Regions from separate parts of the Homo sapiens genome. Here regions 2 and 3 are each linked to region 1. The links are contacts of gene promoters, found by promoter capture Hi-C in human tissues and cell types (Jung and others, 2019). All regions are on one chromosome and are shown on one strand. The core of a region is centred on a gene start or on the middle of the fragment in contact, and the rest is flanking DNA. Distances in the headings are between cores, read along the strand shown. Region 1 holds the start of HELZ (helicase with zinc finger). Region 2 overlaps PITPNC1 (phosphatidylinositol transfer protein cytoplasmic 1). Region 3 overlaps PITPNC1 (phosphatidylinositol transfer protein cytoplasmic 1).

Region 1 (3,040 bases), core at 152-2,651:
CGTGCACCGAAAGAGGGTTTTAATGCCAGTGCTTCTGCGGTCTTCTAAAGGTAGAGCCGTTCAACAGCATTTTGTACCGAATACAATTCGCAAGCATTCCTGTCTTGGAGAATTTTCTTTTGGGTATCTCCTTGTTGTAAAAACTTGCTTGGAAAAAAAAAAAAGCAACTGGAGCAGGCCTCCAAAGACAGCAAAGCAGGGACCAGAGGCTCTGCGGAGAGCGCGGGAGGAGGCTGACCAAGGGGCCTCCGTTGCTGGGGGGACCTGGGCGGCTGGACGCCGGGGTCAGTACGCTGCTCGCCCCGCGCAGCCGAAAGCGGGCGTGGTGTCGCGGGGAGAGGATGCCCGGCAGCAGTGTGGCCGGCGGGCTGGGGGTACTCGCCCGGGTCAGAGACCTCAGCCCGCGCCAAGGCGCCCCACACTTTCCAGCGCAGCGGGTCGCAGCCCGGAGACGCCGGGCGTCCCCACCTCCAGCCTCCCGAGCTGCAGCGGCGCCCGCGGTTCTCCCCCGACCCGCCAGGTGGACCCGGACTGGCGCACCCTGCTTTCCGCCCGGGACCCTCCCCCGAGCCCTGGCTGCCTCCGCGCCCCGCCCCGCCCGGAGCCCGCAGCCGGCGCCCCGGATTACCTGCCCCGGAGTCACAGTCCGCAGCCCGGACGCTCCCAGGGTGGCTCCGCGGAGCCTGGAGCCACATTCCTAGGGGAGGGGTCCCCACCTAGAGGGTCGCGGATCACGTTACCCGCCCGGAGGAGGAGACCGCGGGACACAGAGTAAACAAGGGGTAAAAAGTTGCATTTGGCTCAATTTTTTTTTTTAAATCGTGCTTCGACGCTGGTGGACTCGGGGACACGGCGTCCTCCCAGTTCCCGGAGCCCAACGGCCCCGGGGCGGTTTCCCAGGGCAGAGGCACCTCTCCGGGCGGCGGGTGCGGAGCTGGTCTGCGCGGCCTCTGAAGGCGACCCCGGCCGCTCGCGGGCTTCCTGGAAGCGCGGCCGCAGGAGCAGAAACGCTCACATCCACGCGCACAAATAAATCCGCGAGCAGCTCCGCGCCGCGCCGCGGGCGGCAAGGAAACCTCGGGTTGATTCAATGCAGACGCGGGGCGTCTGCCCGGGCAGGAACGCGGCGAGGCGAGAGGACCGGGCGTGGGGGCAGGGAGGCCGGGGCAGGAGAAAGGGAGAAAACCCCAAAGCCACGTTTTAAAAATGCGGGTGAATTTTCAATGCCGTCAGCCCGGGGGAGGGGAAGGGGCCAGCTGCGGGCGCCGGGGTCGGCAGTCCACCCGGGGCAACTTTCCGGGCGGGAGGCGCGGCCGGAGGGGGCGGCGCCGGCGGCGGGAGGCGGGAGTCGGGGGCCGGGGGGAGTCACTTTAAAGGCTCTTTCTTACCCATAATGCTTTGTGGGGACGTTGACAAGTGGATCCAAGATGGCGTAGAAAGTAATGACAGGTAAGTCCTGACTTCCCCCTTCTCTGCTCCTGGGGCCGCTCCGCGAGCTCCCGGAGCTCTCCGGGGAGGGGACCCGACTCCCCTCCGGTGTCCCGGACCCCGGGCGCGGCGGCCCCGGGGCAGGCTGGGGGCCTGGGCGGCCCGCGGCTGGGCCTGGGAAGCGCGGCTCTTCGAGGCGAGGCCCGGACGCTGGGGCTGTTTACAGCTTCTTCCCCTACTTAGTCCCCTTCCCCTCCGCTGGGGCCCGCAGCGTCCTGGGCCCTGGCAGGAGAGGGGGCCTTGCACGCCTGGCCCGGGAGCCTGCGGGAGGTTTCTCCGGCCCAGAGCACTCTGGGAGGGGGACTCGAGCCTCCCGGCACGTTCCCCTCCTCCGGGTCGCGGCTGGGGGTGGGGAGCGTGCGGGCCTCCCACGCCCCGCTCGATGCCCCCCCTCAGGCCTCGGACTTCCACCGGGTGGGGTGGGGGCTGGAGCGGGGGCGTGGGGAAAAGTGGGTCAGGCGTGCGCCCCCTCCCTCCCCCGCGGAGGGCTCTCGGCCCGAGATTCACTTTCTTCCCCCCTTTCCCCGCCCCCTCCTCGGAAATGCTCTTTGGCCCACAAGCACATCAACAAAAATAAAGATAGGCTCTCTTTTCCTGGAGATTCCTTGAGAGTACTCCAGTACCCTTTTCAAGGGCTCACAGACTGCAGTCTTACCTAGGGAACTTCGATTCCTCTCCCCTAAATTATTGGAGCCTTCTGCACCCTCGCCTTTGCTGAGAAATCTTCAGACAGGGCTGGAAGCCAGGGTCCTCTGATTGTTCTTGGATCGGGATCCTCAGGTTTTGTTTGCAGTTCAAAAATTGTCATTCCTTCTCCCTCACAACTTAACACTTCTCAGGCAAATCATTAATATAATAAAAAGTGTAACTTCAGAGACAGTGGATTCCTGGAGCGGGGGAAGGAGGGAGGAGTTGTCTGTCTTGCCTAGTTTGTTCTTAATTTTGCTCTCTCTTAAACTCATATTAATGAAATTTCCTCTCCTTCATTTCTTTATGTTTTTGAAAGTAAGGTCAGTCTGTGTTGAAAAAGATGATTTTATTATGTTTTTGAGTTTTAAGAGCATTGTATAATCTATTCTTTTACCTTACTGAAAGGAAATGTTTTAAGGTCAAAAACCAGACTCATTTGCAAAGCTGCACACTGTACCATTTTTGTAACTTTTTCCATTTTAAATGTAGATGCCCTTTCACTTCAGGCTGATAAAATGTTTGCTACTGATAATGTCTGTTACTGGTGTTGTATGGAAACATCTTTTCTATTTGCCTCAGGATTTGGATGAAGTAATGGATCACTAATGAACTACAGTGCTGGTGAGATGTGTAAGGTGAGACTGCAGTTAAAAATGATTTCCTTTTTTTCCTTCTTTATTTTAATCAACTGGTAAGAGTAAGGCTGAAACTGAGTAATTTGATGGGGCCATCTTTGTTTTCCAAATGTATCACTCAGTCAGTGGGTCTATGGGCAGGGCTAGATTTAGAAAGGAAAAATATGTTGAATGTACCAATCTTTTCAGTTGCTCCAACATACTCAAACATAGTGGTACTTAACTAA
Region 2 (3,040 bases), core at 234-2,733, 400 kb before region 1:
GCGTCAGATTCCCAACAGACAGAACAAAATTCAAAGGCACTGACCTCTCTCACAATCGGGGAATGGGCAGGCTTACAGGCTTACATTGCTAACCCCCCTGCATCCCTCCTCCCCCAAATTAAGTAACAATAAAGTGGTTTAAAACCTTGACCTCAGTAAGTTGAGCTCTCTTAGGCAAAGCTTCCCTATGGTGAATGGATAGTAGATGTGATAAGGCATATTGCTCCCGCAGCCCTTGAGTAACAGACTGGGCCTTCTGAGCTCAGGGGTTGGTCATCTTAACCAGGAGCTCCTCCTCAATGTGTCAATCAAAACAAATCACTTTCTCTTTTTTTTTTTTTTTTTTTCTGAGATGGAGTTTCGCTCTTGTTGCCCAGGCTGGAATGCAATGGCGCGATCTTGGCTCACCGCAACCTCCGCCTTCAGGGTTCAAGTGATTCTCCTGCCTCAGGCTCCCGAGTAGCTGGGATTATAGGTGCCCGCCACCATGCCTGGCTGATTTTTGTATTTTTAGTAGAGATGCGGTTTCTCCGTGTTGGTCAGGCTGGTCTCAAACTCCCGACCTCAGGTGATCCGCCTGCCTCGGCCTCCCAAAGTGCTGGGATTACAGGCATGAGCCACCGCGCCTGGCCAAAACGAAACACTTCCTACCTGTCAAGGCATGAAAAAAGATGGGAAGCTCTGCTCTGAGGCCATTTTCCCAAACCTGGTGCATTTACACACTGATTCTTGGGTCCCAGACCAGTTGAGTCTGGTTGGGTTGGTCTAAGGTGGGACCCGGATATCTCCAGTTTTCAAAACCTCCCTGGGTGATGCTGACCTGATTTGGGAACTCTGTTCTAAGGGCCAAGAAGTTCTGGTGTTTTACTTTAATAAGACTAAAAACAGCAGGGGCTGATGTGGCTGGCCCCAGTTATGAGCAACTTGTGTGGACTCATTGCCTGTTTTCTTGAAAGAACAGAGCAGGGCCAGGTGCATTGGCTCACGCCTGTAATCCCAGCACTTTGGCGAGTGGATCACCTGAAGTCAGGAGTTCGAGAGCAGCCTGACCAACGTGGTGAAACCCTGTCTCTACTAAAAATACAAAAATTAGCTGGGCGTGGTGGCGTGCACCTGTAGTCCCAGCTACTCAGGAGGCTGAGGCAGGAGAATCGCTTGAACCCAGGAGGCAGAGGTTGCAGTGAGCTGAAATTGTGACACTGCCCTCCAGCCTGGGTGACAGAGTGAGACTCTGTCTCAAAAAAAAAAAAAAAAAAAAAAAAAAATTACAGAGGGAAGTTCTCCATGAGATGGAACTGAAGAAGAGCTTGTTGTATCTGTTCACTCCTGGCTGAGAGCCTTGGGCCCTTCAGCTCTTGCTTCCTTCTTTGAAAGTCTTAAATGTTAGTTTTCTATAGTACAGCTGTAAGAAGGCTCGTGGCAGACAGAGATAGCATGGCAATACTGCCTTGGGTACCATCCCGGCACTGCAGTGCCACAGATGGCCCAGACTTGGCACAAAACAAACAGCAAATGTAACTTCTAAGGTTTCTTCGAGGTGAAGTAGCAGAGACACGTGCCATCCGGAATTCAGGTTAAACCATAACAGAGGCAATAACACATTTTTTTTGAAAAGTCTCAGCAGCACAAATGGCTGTAACTTCTGCAGGATCTTGCTGAGCCGGCGGAGGATCCCATGATCCTGAGAGCTGGAGCTATTGGTATCACACCTCTGCTCCTGTTCTCCACTCACACCGACAAGGGAAAAGCGACACGCAAACAAACTCCTGTGACGCCACTCACGGTGGCCACTTTCCAAAGACACATGGTTTCCACGGAGCCACCATTCCTGCAACCCATCTGCAGAGCTCGAAGCCAGGGTCAAAGCAGAGAGAAGGGAACACTTATGAAATGCTTACTGTGTGCCAGGGACTGTGCTGGTCACTTTCCATGCCTTGCCTTTGACGTCATCTCACTTCTCCATCCCATCTGTCCATCTGTCCATTCTTTGGAAGGGAGGGAGGGACTCAGACACAGAATTGATGATGATCAAATGCAGTGGCTGTGACCGCCTGGGAGGCTCCCAGAGCCAGGGCCCTCACCACATTAGGGCTGAATCATCTAGACACAGAGCACACAAGTTGGGAATCCCAATTCATAGGTTCTAGGGGTTATCTTTTGCACAGATCCCTCTATGAAAAGCCCAACTGTTTCTCCCTTCCATGAATGTTTTGCTTGGATGAATTCTTCCCTCCCTGGTCTGTTCCTTTTGGGATATAGGGTGATAGGGTGATTTCCCCAAGGGTTCTTTCTTTCTTTCTTTTTTGAGACAAAGTCTCACTCTGTTGTCCAGGCTGGAGTGCAGTGGCGCGATCTCAGCTCACTGCCACCTCCGCCTCCCGGATTCAAGCAATTCTCGTGCCTCAGCCTCCCTAGTACCTAGGACTACAGGTGCGTGCCGCCATGCCCAGCTAATTTTCGTATTTTTAGTAGACAGGGTTTTGCCATGGTCTCGAACTCCTGACCTCAAGTGATCTGCCTGCCTTGGCGTCCCAAAGTGCTGGGATTACAGGCGTGAGCCACTGCACCTGGCCCCCAAGGGCTCTTTCTATTGATTCAATGACCCACAATGCCACAATCAGCAACTGCACTCCTGGCAGAGACTTAGATTCTCTGCTTTTGATCTGGCATTTAGGAATTCATATGCCTTGATTTTGTTTGACCTACTTGGTCTGGCATTTCACTACCAAATTCAATTGGTAGGATTTGCAACTGCTGCTCTGAACACTGAGTTCTGGGGAACATCATTCATGCCAATTACTGCAGCAGTTTAAATGGTTTTTTTCCCCTTGAAAAATTAAAAAAAAAAATGAAAACTCTTTCTCTAGGATGAAGTTGGGCACTATCATTTTTTGTAGTAATCCCAGTAAAAATGGGGTTTGATCCAAATGCTGAGGTAGCTTCGCATTATTAGGCCAAGAGAACAGCAGTGGCTTTTAAAATCAGCACTAGGCACGGTGCTTCAGCGAGACTTGGCGTCTTATCTTTCCCGGGTTTGGAA
Region 3 (3,040 bases), core at 325-2,824, 360 kb before region 1:
CCGAACTGGTTCTAAGAGCATCTTCCTGTCCATTACTTATTATTTTATTGTCCATTATGATTCCCAGGAACAGCCCACAACGGATAAAAGGACTTACTGTACTCTTTTTACTTACAACTAACATAATTTAGAAGGTTGACAGAAAAACACGAGCCACTAATGCAATTTCCCCCAGCTAAAATCTTCATTAAGGAAAGGTCGGGAGGTTTTCAGGATGAAGATGCAAAACCGGGGAAATTCACGATAAGCCCCGGGAGGACTCGCCACAGGCCGGAGCAAGCTCTGTTCCCAGGCTGGACAGCGGCTGCCAGCTGGCAGGCGGCGTGAGTCCAAGGTCTTGCAGACCATGGAAAATCCGTAAACGGTTCAGGACAAAGACTTGCAGAGCTGTCTCCTTCTCCATGCAGGGAGCTATGCTGAGAAGTTTTGGCTGTGGGTATTTTGAGATGTCCTTTGGCACTTGATCTCAGCTGAGGAAGGCACATAGGGACTATGAGATAGGAAAAATAAATTATTCAGACATAGGGCTCTAGGAATAGAGCTCTCGGTTCAGCTTTGCTCCTGCCAAGGAGCCCCTGGGTTTATCATTAGCCTTGTTTTATTTTATTTTATTGTTTTGTTTTATTTTATTTTATTTTGAGACAGAATCTCACCCTGTTGCCCTGGCTGGAGTGCAATGGCGCGATTTCGGCTCACTGCAACCTCTGCTTCCCGGTTTCAAACGATTCTCCTGCCTCAGCCTCCTGAGTAACTGGGACTACAGGCGCATCCCAACGCACCCAGCTAATTTTTTATTTTTAGTAGAGATGGGGCTTCATGATGTTGGCCAGGCTGGTCTCAAACTCCTGGCCTCAGGTGATCCGTCCGCCTCAGCCTCCCAAAGTGCTGGGATTACAGATGTGAGCCATGCCCAGTCATATTTTAATTTTTTTTGGAGAGGGAGTCTCACTCTGTTGTCCAGGCTGGAGTGCAGTGGCAAGTTCTCAGCACACTGCAACCTCCGCCTCCTGGGTTCAAGTGATTCTTGTGCCTCAGCTTCCCAAGTAGCTGGGACTACAGGTACATGCTTTCACGCCTGGCTAATTTTTGTATTTTCAGTAAAAATGGGGTTTCACCATGTTGGCAAGGCTGGTCTCGAACTCCTGACCTCAAGCTATCCACCCGCCTGGGCCTCCCAAAGTGTTGGGATTACAGGCGTGAGTGACCGTGCCTGGCCTAGGACTGTTTTATTTTTAACTTATTTCTTTTGCTTTTGGGTCTTTGAGGCCAATCTCTCTGGTGTTCCTACGCAGATCCTCTTTCTCTGAGAATCTGCTTTCATAAGAAACAACCCCTCCTTCATATGTCACCAGCATCCTGCTATTAGCCTACCAGCCTCCCCTTCTAATCCAGGGGAAGCTGACTTGACCCAGAATTGAGGCAACCCAGCTCTGCCTTCCATCCATGTCTGAAGATGTGTAAAAACTAGACACATGGCTGGAAAGCCATTTTCCCTCACTATTCCAGTTGATAAACACCCATTATATGGCATTACATCTGAGAAAATTCCTAGTAATAAAAGTTTTTGAAAAAAATCAGGTAAGGGATGTTATTACCACGATAATTCCTTTCAGAATATTTGCCTCCCTGTAAAACTTGGAAGGAGAAAAATATTCCTTTGACAATGCTTCTTTAAGATGGGAGTGACTTATTTCCCTTTCCTCACTGTGAAAATTTAAACTTTCAACCAGACTTTAGAGCAGCTGACTCCATGTACAGTTTTTTTTTTTTTTTTAAATCTATGAGACAGAGTCTCGTTCTGTTGCCCAGGTTGGAGCAGTGGCACCATCTTGGATCTTGGCTTACTGCAGCCTCTGCCTCCCTGGTTCAAGTGATTCTCCTGCCTCAGCCTCCCAAGCAGCTGGGATTACAAGCATGCACCACCAAGCCCAGCTAATTTTTGTATTTTTAGTAGAGACAGGGTTTCACCTTGTTGGCCAGGCTGGTCTCAAACTCCTGACCTCAAATGATTCGTCCGCCTCAGCCTCCCAAAGTGTTGGGATTACAGGTGTGAGCCACCGCGCCTGGCTCTACCTACAGTCTTATTTCATTTTTAGAGCCAAAGACAGCAGATTAGTTACATGAGAGCACGTGCTCCAAGGCTAAACTAACCTAGAATTGAGTCCTAGATCTGACACTTGCTAGCTGTGAGGCTGTGCAGACCGCTGGCTCTCACTAAGCCTCAGTGTCAGTTGTAAAATGGGGATATTAATATCTGTGAAGATTTCATGAGACTGTGGCTATCTAAAGACAGGTTGGCAAGATGCTGGGCTCATGTAAATATTCCTGCCAATATCCGTCTGACCATCACCATTATTATGAGTCAATATCCACATGGCTGCCATCATGATTACTTCTTACTCTTGAAGATGTTACTTCCTAGCCGGGGCCTGCTAGTCTAATCTATACCCTCTTTGCCTTGCTTTTGATGAGAAAAGGGGCACAGGCGAGCCTGCTTGCTCCAGCTGTACTTTGCAAAAAGGCCATTAGATGGGGCCCTGCCATAATCACTCAAGTCAGCAAGTGGCTCTGACTTTGAAACCTGGGGAAAAGGTGTGAGAAGACAATTGAATCCTGTGAGTACTGCTCAGATTGATCAAATGAACCCACTGGCTCTGGTGTAAGAGGTGACCCAGGGGCCTGGTGTGGTAGCTCATGCTTGTAATCCCAGCACTACGGGAGGGTGAGGCAAGAGGATCACTTGAGCCCAGGAGTTGGAGACCAGCCTGGGAAACATGGCAAAACCCCATCTCTACAAAAAAAAAATATCAAAATTAGCTGGGCATGGTGGTATGCACCTGTAGTTCCAGCTACTTGGGAGACTGAGGTAGGAGGATCACCTGAGTCCAGGAGGTCGAGGTTGCAGTGAACCAAGGTTGTACCACTGCACTCTAACCTGGGCGACAGAGCAAGATCCATCCCCCCAACCACCAAAAAAAAATTCCCAAGGTTAGTGGTCACTTGTAGAATGAGTGGCACTTTTCCAGGGCCCTCCTCCTCC

The links. Contacts are between HindIII fragments. The study calls those that stand out against the background at their distance.
Region 2: a contact is called between a fragment that was not itself captured here and the fragment with the promoter of HELZ in region 1, in 1 of the 25 tissues and cell types used here (H1 embryonic stem cells).
Region 3: a contact is called between a fragment that was not itself captured here and the fragment with the promoter of HELZ in region 1, in 1 of the 25 tissues and cell types used here (IMR-90 fibroblasts).

The regions. Positions count from the first base shown.
Region 1 is chr17:67,243,557-67,246,596 of GRCh38, reverse strand. It overlaps HELZ (helicase with zinc finger), which reads left to right and starts at 1,401. Exons shown (of 33, transcript NM_014877.4): 1 at 1,401-1,449; 2 at 2,758-2,813. HELZ-AS1 (HELZ antisense RNA 1) reads right to left here and starts at 1,821. Exons shown (of 4, transcript NR_136398.1): 1 at 1,389-1,821. RefSeq lists silencers at 384-583, 594-683, 1,234-1,723, 1,824-1,873 and enhancers at 203-1,189, 1,190-2,177. The HindIII fragment of the contact is 25,130 bases long and covers 1-3,040 here.
Region 2 is chr17:67,642,651-67,645,690 of GRCh38, reverse strand. All of the region lies in intron 6 of PITPNC1 (phosphatidylinositol transfer protein cytoplasmic 1), which reads right to left. Among named protein-coding and RNA genes, the nearest start is that of NOL11, 74 kb to the left of the region's middle. The HindIII fragment of the contact is 6,354 bases long and covers 1-3,040 here.
Region 3 is chr17:67,602,677-67,605,716 of GRCh38, reverse strand. The region is part of intron 5 of PITPNC1 (phosphatidylinositol transfer protein cytoplasmic 1); the gene reads right to left. Among named protein-coding and RNA genes, the nearest start is that of NOL11, 110 kb to the left of the region's middle. RefSeq lists an enhancer at 2,327-2,836. The HindIII fragment of the contact is 5,937 bases long and covers 1-3,040 here.